Regions from separate parts of the Homo sapiens genome. Here region 2 is linked to region 1. The links are contacts of gene promoters, found by promoter capture Hi-C in human tissues and cell types (Jung and others, 2019). All regions are on one chromosome and are shown on one strand. Each heading gives the region's core, a stretch centred on a gene start or on the middle of the fragment in contact. The rest is flanking DNA. Distances are from core to core; before and after follow the strand shown.

Region 1 (3,811 bases), core at 601-3,100:
AAACCCACCATACACTACACAAATCATGTATACACCACACACACACACACACATCATGTACACGCACACATACCTTAAAGGTACCATATACATCACCCACTACACACCATACACACAACACACATGCAACAATCTTTCCACAATACGTATATACACAACACACATGTCACACATACCATCACAGACACCACATCCACACGCTCTACAGGCCATACCTACACATATCACATATATCATACACACGTAGACACATACCAAACACACCACAGGCACATCATATACATACAGCATACCACACACAAAACACCCCACCGATGCACATCATGAACACACGCATAAACACCACACACAAATGCACATGGGCACACACGCCATACACACGCCACACACACACTCCCCTGGCTGGGTCTTCCAACTCTGAGTCAGAGAAAGTTAGGACAAAACAGACTCTGAAGCTAGGAAGTGATCCACACACCTGTGACTCTGAACACCCAGACACCTGCCCCTAGGCTATTGGCACCTGGCTGGCACCAGGAGGTTGGATAAGCCCGGGCTTCTGCCCCTTTCCAGTGGAAAAGTTGAACTAAATGACCTTTCCGACAGCTTCCAGCAAGCTCATGATGGAGCTCTTTGTTGTGGGAAGACGATGGGCCATGCTTAATGCCATCATTCTTCTGTATGACTGTGCGAGTCACTTAACCTCTCTGAAGCTCTGTTGGCCAGTTAGAATGAGGAGGTGTGCTAGGGAGAAAGAAGTGGGCTTGGAATGAGGGATGGGTGTGAATCTTGCCTCTGCCACCTCTATGGCCTTGGGAGAGTTCCTTTACCATGGTGAGCTTTGGTTTCTCCCATCAATACAATGTAGATAATAATACCTGCCTTGCAGGTTTGTTACGAGTTTACCTGGGAACGCTCAGTTAAAAGGCCCAGCACACAGTAGCAGCTGAATGTCACCTCCACGGGAAGGCTGGCAGATAGAATACTTGCAAAACGTGGGGTATATTTATACTAAAAAATTCTTTGTTGTTTATCTAAAATTCAAATTTGACCACGTGTCCTGTATTTTATCGGGCACCCACCCCATGCACGGGGCATTGTGGACAGTCTGTGGAGCTCCTGAGCAGGGGGTCTGCCCAGAGCTAGATTTTGTGCCCTGGCTGGTGAGCGAAGAATGCATTTTACATCTTTGGGGGTGGTTAGAAAACAACCACCAAAACAAAACCAAAGAATAACGTACATTAGAGAGTGTACATGGCTTGCAAAACCTAACATCTTTACATTTCCTATCAGCCCTTCCAGAAAAAGTTTGCTGACCCAAAGGTGATGGGGACTGAGAGGAAAGTCTGGGAGAACTGAGTATCTTCGCAATTTATATACCTATTTCAGGCCTGGCAAGAATGAAACTGGAAGAGTCCAGAAAATGGAATTCTCCAGGACATAAGCAGGGGGAGGCAGAGAGTGAGGCAGGTGGTCGGCAGAAGAGGCACTGTGGGAAAGTGGGGCGCTCCCTCCTGGGAGTCCTCAACATTGGGAATGGGCCTGCCCTGACTCCTCCCCTCCTTTCTCACTGCCTAGAGTCTCTCAGGGTAGGTCACTGGGTGTTCTGACGTCCAAGGGAGGCCTCGCCAGTCTTTCTGAAGGCCTCCCTGGTTGTGACTGGCCTGGGGGCAGGGAGAGAGCCCTGGGTGGAGAAAGAATTGGAGTTGGCACAAGTCCCCCTTGGTAGGCAGGTCTGTGGCTGGCCTGTGTCTTTAAATCTCAGGTAATTTGGGAGGAGGGAGGGCGTGTCCGTGCAGCTTTGGCTCCTCCTGCTCACTCCCAGCAGGAGCTCCAGACAGGCCAGCCCTGCAGAGTCCTGGCTGGCTCTGCCAAGTGTAACAAACTCACAGCCCTCTCCAAACTGGCTGGGGCTGCTGGGAGACTCCCAAGGAACTCGTCAGGAAGGCAGGAGACAGGAGACGGGACCTCTACAGGGAGACGGTGGGCCGGCCCTTGGGGGGGCTGATGTGGCCCCAAGGCTGAGTCCCGTCAGGGTCTGGCCTCGGCCTCAGGCCCCCAAGGAGCCGGCCCTACACCCCATGGGTTTGTCACTGCCCAAGGAGAAAGGGCTAATTCTCTGCCTATGGAGCAAGTTCTGCAGATGGTTCCAGAGACGGGAGTCCTGGGCCCAGAGCCGAGATGAGCAGAACCTGCTGCAGCAGAAGAGGTAAGGCCCCCTTGGTCTGCTCCCTTCCCCACCTCCCCAGGCCTGCACCTCTACCCCTCACCCCTCCCTCACCTCCCGTCTTTGTTTGGCACCTTTGGCTGGACAGATGGTGCTCCCAGGCCCGGACTGGCTCCTTGGGAGCATTCTGTCTTAAGAGCCTCAGCCTGTAGGGCTGGTGAAAGAGGATGGGGTTGAGATGGGCACAGGTGTTCACTATCTTAAGATCTAATTCGATTCTGCAAGCCTCTTGTGAGTACTTCTCTAAGGGCCAGGCGTCTTGCTGGGGCTTGTAAGGATAGAGCATCACAGCCCCTCCACCCAAGAGGGGACGGCAGGTGAGGACAATGCCTTCTGTATCTCCACTGCTTGCCTCTAGAACAGTCTCTCTGGCAGGAACACATAGTATACATATGTTCGCATGGAGGAATGAGTGAACGATTGAATGAATGAAGCAGAGAGAACCGCGGACACCAGGAACCAGAAAATAAGACAAAATGTGAAAAAAGTGACCATTCCTATGTATCTGTCTCATCAGACACTGACCAAGGCCTTACTATTTGCCCAGCACTGGGGGGATATGAAGACCTACAACGCTCAAACCCAACCTTGAGGTGTATTTCTCTCTCAGTGCGGGTGGGGACTGAGGGGAAGCGGGTCAAAATAACAGATGTTCCGAGGACCTGTGCTCTTCCGCATTCAGGTGGTGGAAATCGAGACTCTAGCGTTTAAGCCCTAAGGACATTCACTGGTGGCTTCCAGCCCCTGAAAACTTCCTAAACCCGTGTCCTGCTTTCTTCACCATGACAGCTTGGAGTACAGAGCAGGAGAGGAGCAGGGAATCGGAACTCAGGGCTATCCCTGCATGTGGTCTCTTCTTCAAGGTCTCTAATAGAGTTCTCTACCCAGTTGGTGGCATGCTAGAAGGAAGTCCTGCCTGTTGGGGCTTTCCCTGGGTCACGAAGGAGGCAGATGTCTGGTCATAGAGGAAAGCCTGAAGTCTTTGTGCCTTAGGGTTTTTCTCTGACCCCAAGAGTAGGAGCCTGCTTTAGCCTGACCGGGGAGGCTGCCTGGAGGCCCCTGTGTTTTCTTTTGCTGAAGGATTCTGGGTTGGGGATGGTCTCTTTCTGTGAATTATGGCTTCCCATCTCTCCAGCCGCCCACCTCTCCCCCAAGGCCTGGGAGAGTGGGGACTGGAGCACATGTTTGGCTGATGACATCTTGGGGCAACAGAATGGCATTGTTGTTAGAGAGTAGGTCGTCCTCACTGGCTTCACTCATCCTCTTCCCACTCTTAGGACCCCAGGGCCAGGGGATCCAGGCACAGAGTGCAAAAAGGCCTGGGGGATTGGAAGGGGTGGTGGAGATTCCCTGTGTGCGATATCAGGGGAGAGCAGAGGGGAGGCCCTGCGCTGAGTGGCTGAGAATAGGCTGCTTCCGCATGTCCTGTCTGCCCTCACTTTTCCTCAGATCATATGGGGGCTGCCTCTGCAGACTTTGGCTAGAAAGGCTTGATGTCACCCTTGGGAGGGATCCCCCCTCCCTGCCCTGATCTCCTTACTGGCCTCCGCACTTTCTTGGCCTTCTTCTTGCTGGATATCAGGTGTC
Region 2 (3,811 bases), core at 859-3,358, 250 kb after region 1:
TTGCAACAGATTCAACAGTATGTTCCCATTTCGTGCCTCCAATATGGTAATTCTCCATCTGAATACTTGGATCCATTTTTAAATTAGTGAATTGTATTTTTGGAGCAATTTTAAGTCCACAGCAAAGTTGAGCAGAAACTACAGAATCCCAAGTATTCCCTGCACTCACATGAACAACGTTCCCTACTACTGACACTCTGTGTTGTAGAACTATAGACCTGATGAAGGTGGCCTATGGGAGAAACAAGAATGGAATTCAGAGGCTCGACCAGCAGGGCTGCAACCCCTCATTCCAAATCATGTGCTTAACTGCAAAATATTCCCTTTAATTAATCTTAACGCATAGGTATGTTTTCATTAACAAAATGTATCTCTTCTTAAAGTACACCTTGCAGAAATTTCACAGCTTTTCCAATACATGTAAATAAGTATATTTTACCTGGAAACAGAGCAGCACTGACACTTGATTGGTTCACATGGTGAATGAGGCTGACGCTGTGAGCTCACATATGGTTGCTCCAAACCATATGCAATTTCTGGAGAAGGTATTTTTATGTAACATACTGAGGTAGAGATGTCAATTGAAAAATGTAAAGACGAAATTGAATTAGGCTGACGTGAAATCTTGGCAGAAAATATTTTTATTGAGTACATTTATAATCTTGTTAAAATAAAATTTAGGAAAATATATATAAGATCTGTATAATAAAAAATACAAAGCGATGCTGAGAGAAATTAACAAGACCTCAATAAAGAGATGTGAGGGACTTTCTGAGACGATGAAAATGTTTTGTATCTTGATTGTCATCATGGTTACATCATGGGTATAAAAATGTGTTAAAATTTGTTGAAGTGTACACTTAAAATGCGGGTGTGTTTTATTGCAGCAGTTGGATTTGTTTATTGCATACATATTCCATATATATCTTATGTCTCAATAGAGTTGCTTTAAAAATGTTCGTAATTGTTGGCCAGGCGTGGTGGCTCATGCCTGTAATCCCAGCACTCTGGGAGGCCGAGGCAGGCGGATTACGAGGTCAGGAGATCGAGACCATCCTGGCTAACACGGTGAAACACCGTCTCCACTAAAAGAAATACAAAAAATTAGCTGGGCGTGGTGGCGGGCGCCTGTAGTCCCAGCTACTCGGGAGGCTGAGGCAGGAGAATGGCGTGAACCCAGGAGGCGGAACTTGTAGTGAGCCGAGATCACGCCACTGCACTCCAGCCTGGATGACAGAGCGAGACTCCGTCTCAAAAAAAAATTAAAATAAATATAAATAAATAAATAAAAATAAAAATTTGTGATTGTAACATTCCATAGGGCAGGAATTGCTAATGGTTCCCACTAGGCTTCTATGGCAGGGAGAGCTGTGAGAAGCAGTCAAAAAGCCCTTTAGAGTCTGTCTCTAGTTCAAGGAAATGTGCTGGGTCAGAAGATCAGGGTCTACCTGAAAGACACAGTTGATCCGCTTGTCATTCTTATTTGTGCACCCACAACTTTACCAAGTGAAAAGCACAGAATCCCCTTCTTTAAATAAAGATTGTTAGAAATCCATAAAGCTCATGTAGAGAGAGAGAGAGGGTAACCTAGCATATCTTACCTAATATGCTGAACACTGAGGAATCCAAGCTTTTTATGCCTTCTGGCCCCTTCCCTGGGGTTTTGTCCCCATCAGTTGTTTTAAATAACCCCCCTTTGTTTTTTGCTCACTTAGAGCTGTTATTTACAAGTTTTTCCTTCTGATTTATTGTCTTTCAAGTTGGGTTTCTGTTACGTAGTGCCTACCAACCTGCTACACACTTATTTCCTGAGCTGGGTCCATAATGAGTTTGTGTTCTAAGAAGGGCTAACATTCGGCACTGTGGCTTTGCTGCTGGCACAGAAATACAGTGCTGTGTCCCCTGACTCCGTGGACTGGATCTCCAAGGTACAGGATGAGTTTTTGGAGCATTGGGCTAAAAATCGCTCATTGATTATTTCTGCTTTCTGAATAAGTTCTTCGTTCTGAAAGTAAACCAAAAACTTGAGCTCTTCTTCCAGCTTCTTACGATACCAGTAAACATAACTATGTGCTTTTATAGGAACACAATCCATCTTTGCTTTCTGTTCACTTGCTTTGGCCAGAAGTCTAGGTCTCTGGGTGACCTTGGTGTCCGTGGAGCCTGTGGAGGAAGGAGAGAGCAGCTGTAGAAAAAGCGCAGGAGGGAGCTTGATACTGCAGCCACCGGAGAGAGTCTTGGAACTGAAATTCAACCAGTTCAGAACAGGGCCTTACCTGGCTCCCCAGAAAGAAATGGCCACACAGCAGAGAAGTCTGAGGCACATGGTTGGCTCAGAAAGAAATCGTAGTGGTAGCTTTTTCTGTAAGGCTTCTTCACCCACTCTCCTAGCCCCCGTCAGCAACCTCCTTGTGACGTGATCACTTTCCATAGCCTTTGTAGATGCTCTGTACATGGGACAGAGTCATTTCAATTTCAAAGAATGTAGGAGGGCAGACTTTGTTTTAGCTGTTAAAAATAGTGTAAGTTTCAGCCTGCTTTTAGTTTTTTTTTTTTCTGTTACTCACTGTTTTGCTATTTTTTTTAAGTAAAATCACTCATACATTTATTTACTTAAAAAATTATTATACTTTAAGTTCTGGGGTACATGTGCAGAATGTGCACTTTTGTTACATAAGTATACACATGCCATGGTGGTTTGCTGCACCTATCAACCCATCATCTACATTAGGTATTTCTCCTAATGCTATCCCTCCCCTAGCCCTCCATCCCCCGACAGGCCCCATGTGTGATGTTCCCCTCCCTGTGTCCATGTGTTCTCATTGTTCAGCTCCCACTTATGAGGGAGAACATGCGGTGTTTGGTTTTCTGTTCTTGTGATAGATTGCTGAGAATGATGGTTTCCAACTTCATCTATGTCCCTGCAAAGGACATGAACTCATCCTTTTTTATGGCTGCATAATATTCCACGGAATATATGTGTCACATTTTCTTTATCCAGTCTATCATTGATGGGCATTTTGGTTGGTTCCAAGTCTTTGCTATTGTGAACAGTGGTGCAATAAACATGTATGTGCATGTCTCTTTATAGTAGAATGATTTATAATCCTTTGGGTATATACCCAGTAATGGGATTGCTGGGTCAAATGGTATTTCTGGTTCTAGATCCTTGAGAAATCTCCACACTGTCTTCCACAATGGTTGAACTAATTTACACTCTATTTACTTTTTTAACTTGTCAGTTTGCTTCTTCCCCTCCCTTCCATCTCAGGTAAGGAATCATACAACTCGGTCTTTACAAATAGTAGCTTTTGACACACTTATAAAATCACATAGCAGCTGCTTTACATTAAGTAAGTATTTATTTATTTATTTATTTATTTATTTATTTATTTATTTATTTATTTTTGAGACGGATCTTGCTCTGTCTCCCAGGCTGGAGTGCAGTGGCATGATCTCAGCCCACTGCAGCCTTTGTCTCCCGGGTTCAAGCAGTCTCCTGCCTCAGCCTCCTGAGTAGCTGGGATTACAGGCCCCCACCACCGCACCTGGCTAATTTTTGTATTTTTAGTAGAGACAGGCTTTCACCATGTCACTGGCTGGTCTTTAATTCCTGACCTCAAGTGATCTGCCCACCTCAGCCTCCCAAACTGTTGGGATTACAGGCATGAGCCACTGTGCCCGGCTACATTAAATAATGAAATGTTGAACTATACAGAACAATATTTATGACAAATATGCAATGCATATATAGAAGCAATAAAATGAATACCTTTGCCTGAACCAATCAGCTTAAGAGTTAGATTATTGC

What was found. Contacts are between HindIII fragments. The study calls those that stand out against the background at their distance.
Region 2: a contact is called between a fragment that was not itself captured here and the fragment with the promoter of TRPV6 in region 1, in 1 of the 25 tissues and cell types used here (spleen).

Annotation. Positions count from the first base shown.
Region 1 is chr7:142,883,784-142,887,594 of GRCh38, reverse strand. TRPV6 (transient receptor potential cation channel subfamily V member 6) reads left to right here and starts at 1,850. Exons shown (of 15, transcript NM_018646.6): 1 at 1,850-2,206. The coding sequence starts at 1,959. The HindIII fragment of the contact is 20,954 bases long and covers 1-3,811 here.
Region 2 is chr7:142,635,439-142,639,249 of GRCh38, reverse strand. It overlaps TRB and the pseudogene TRBV21-1. Among named protein-coding and RNA genes, the nearest start is that of PRSS1, 110 kb to the left of the region's middle. The HindIII fragment of the contact is 4,866 bases long and covers 1-3,811 here.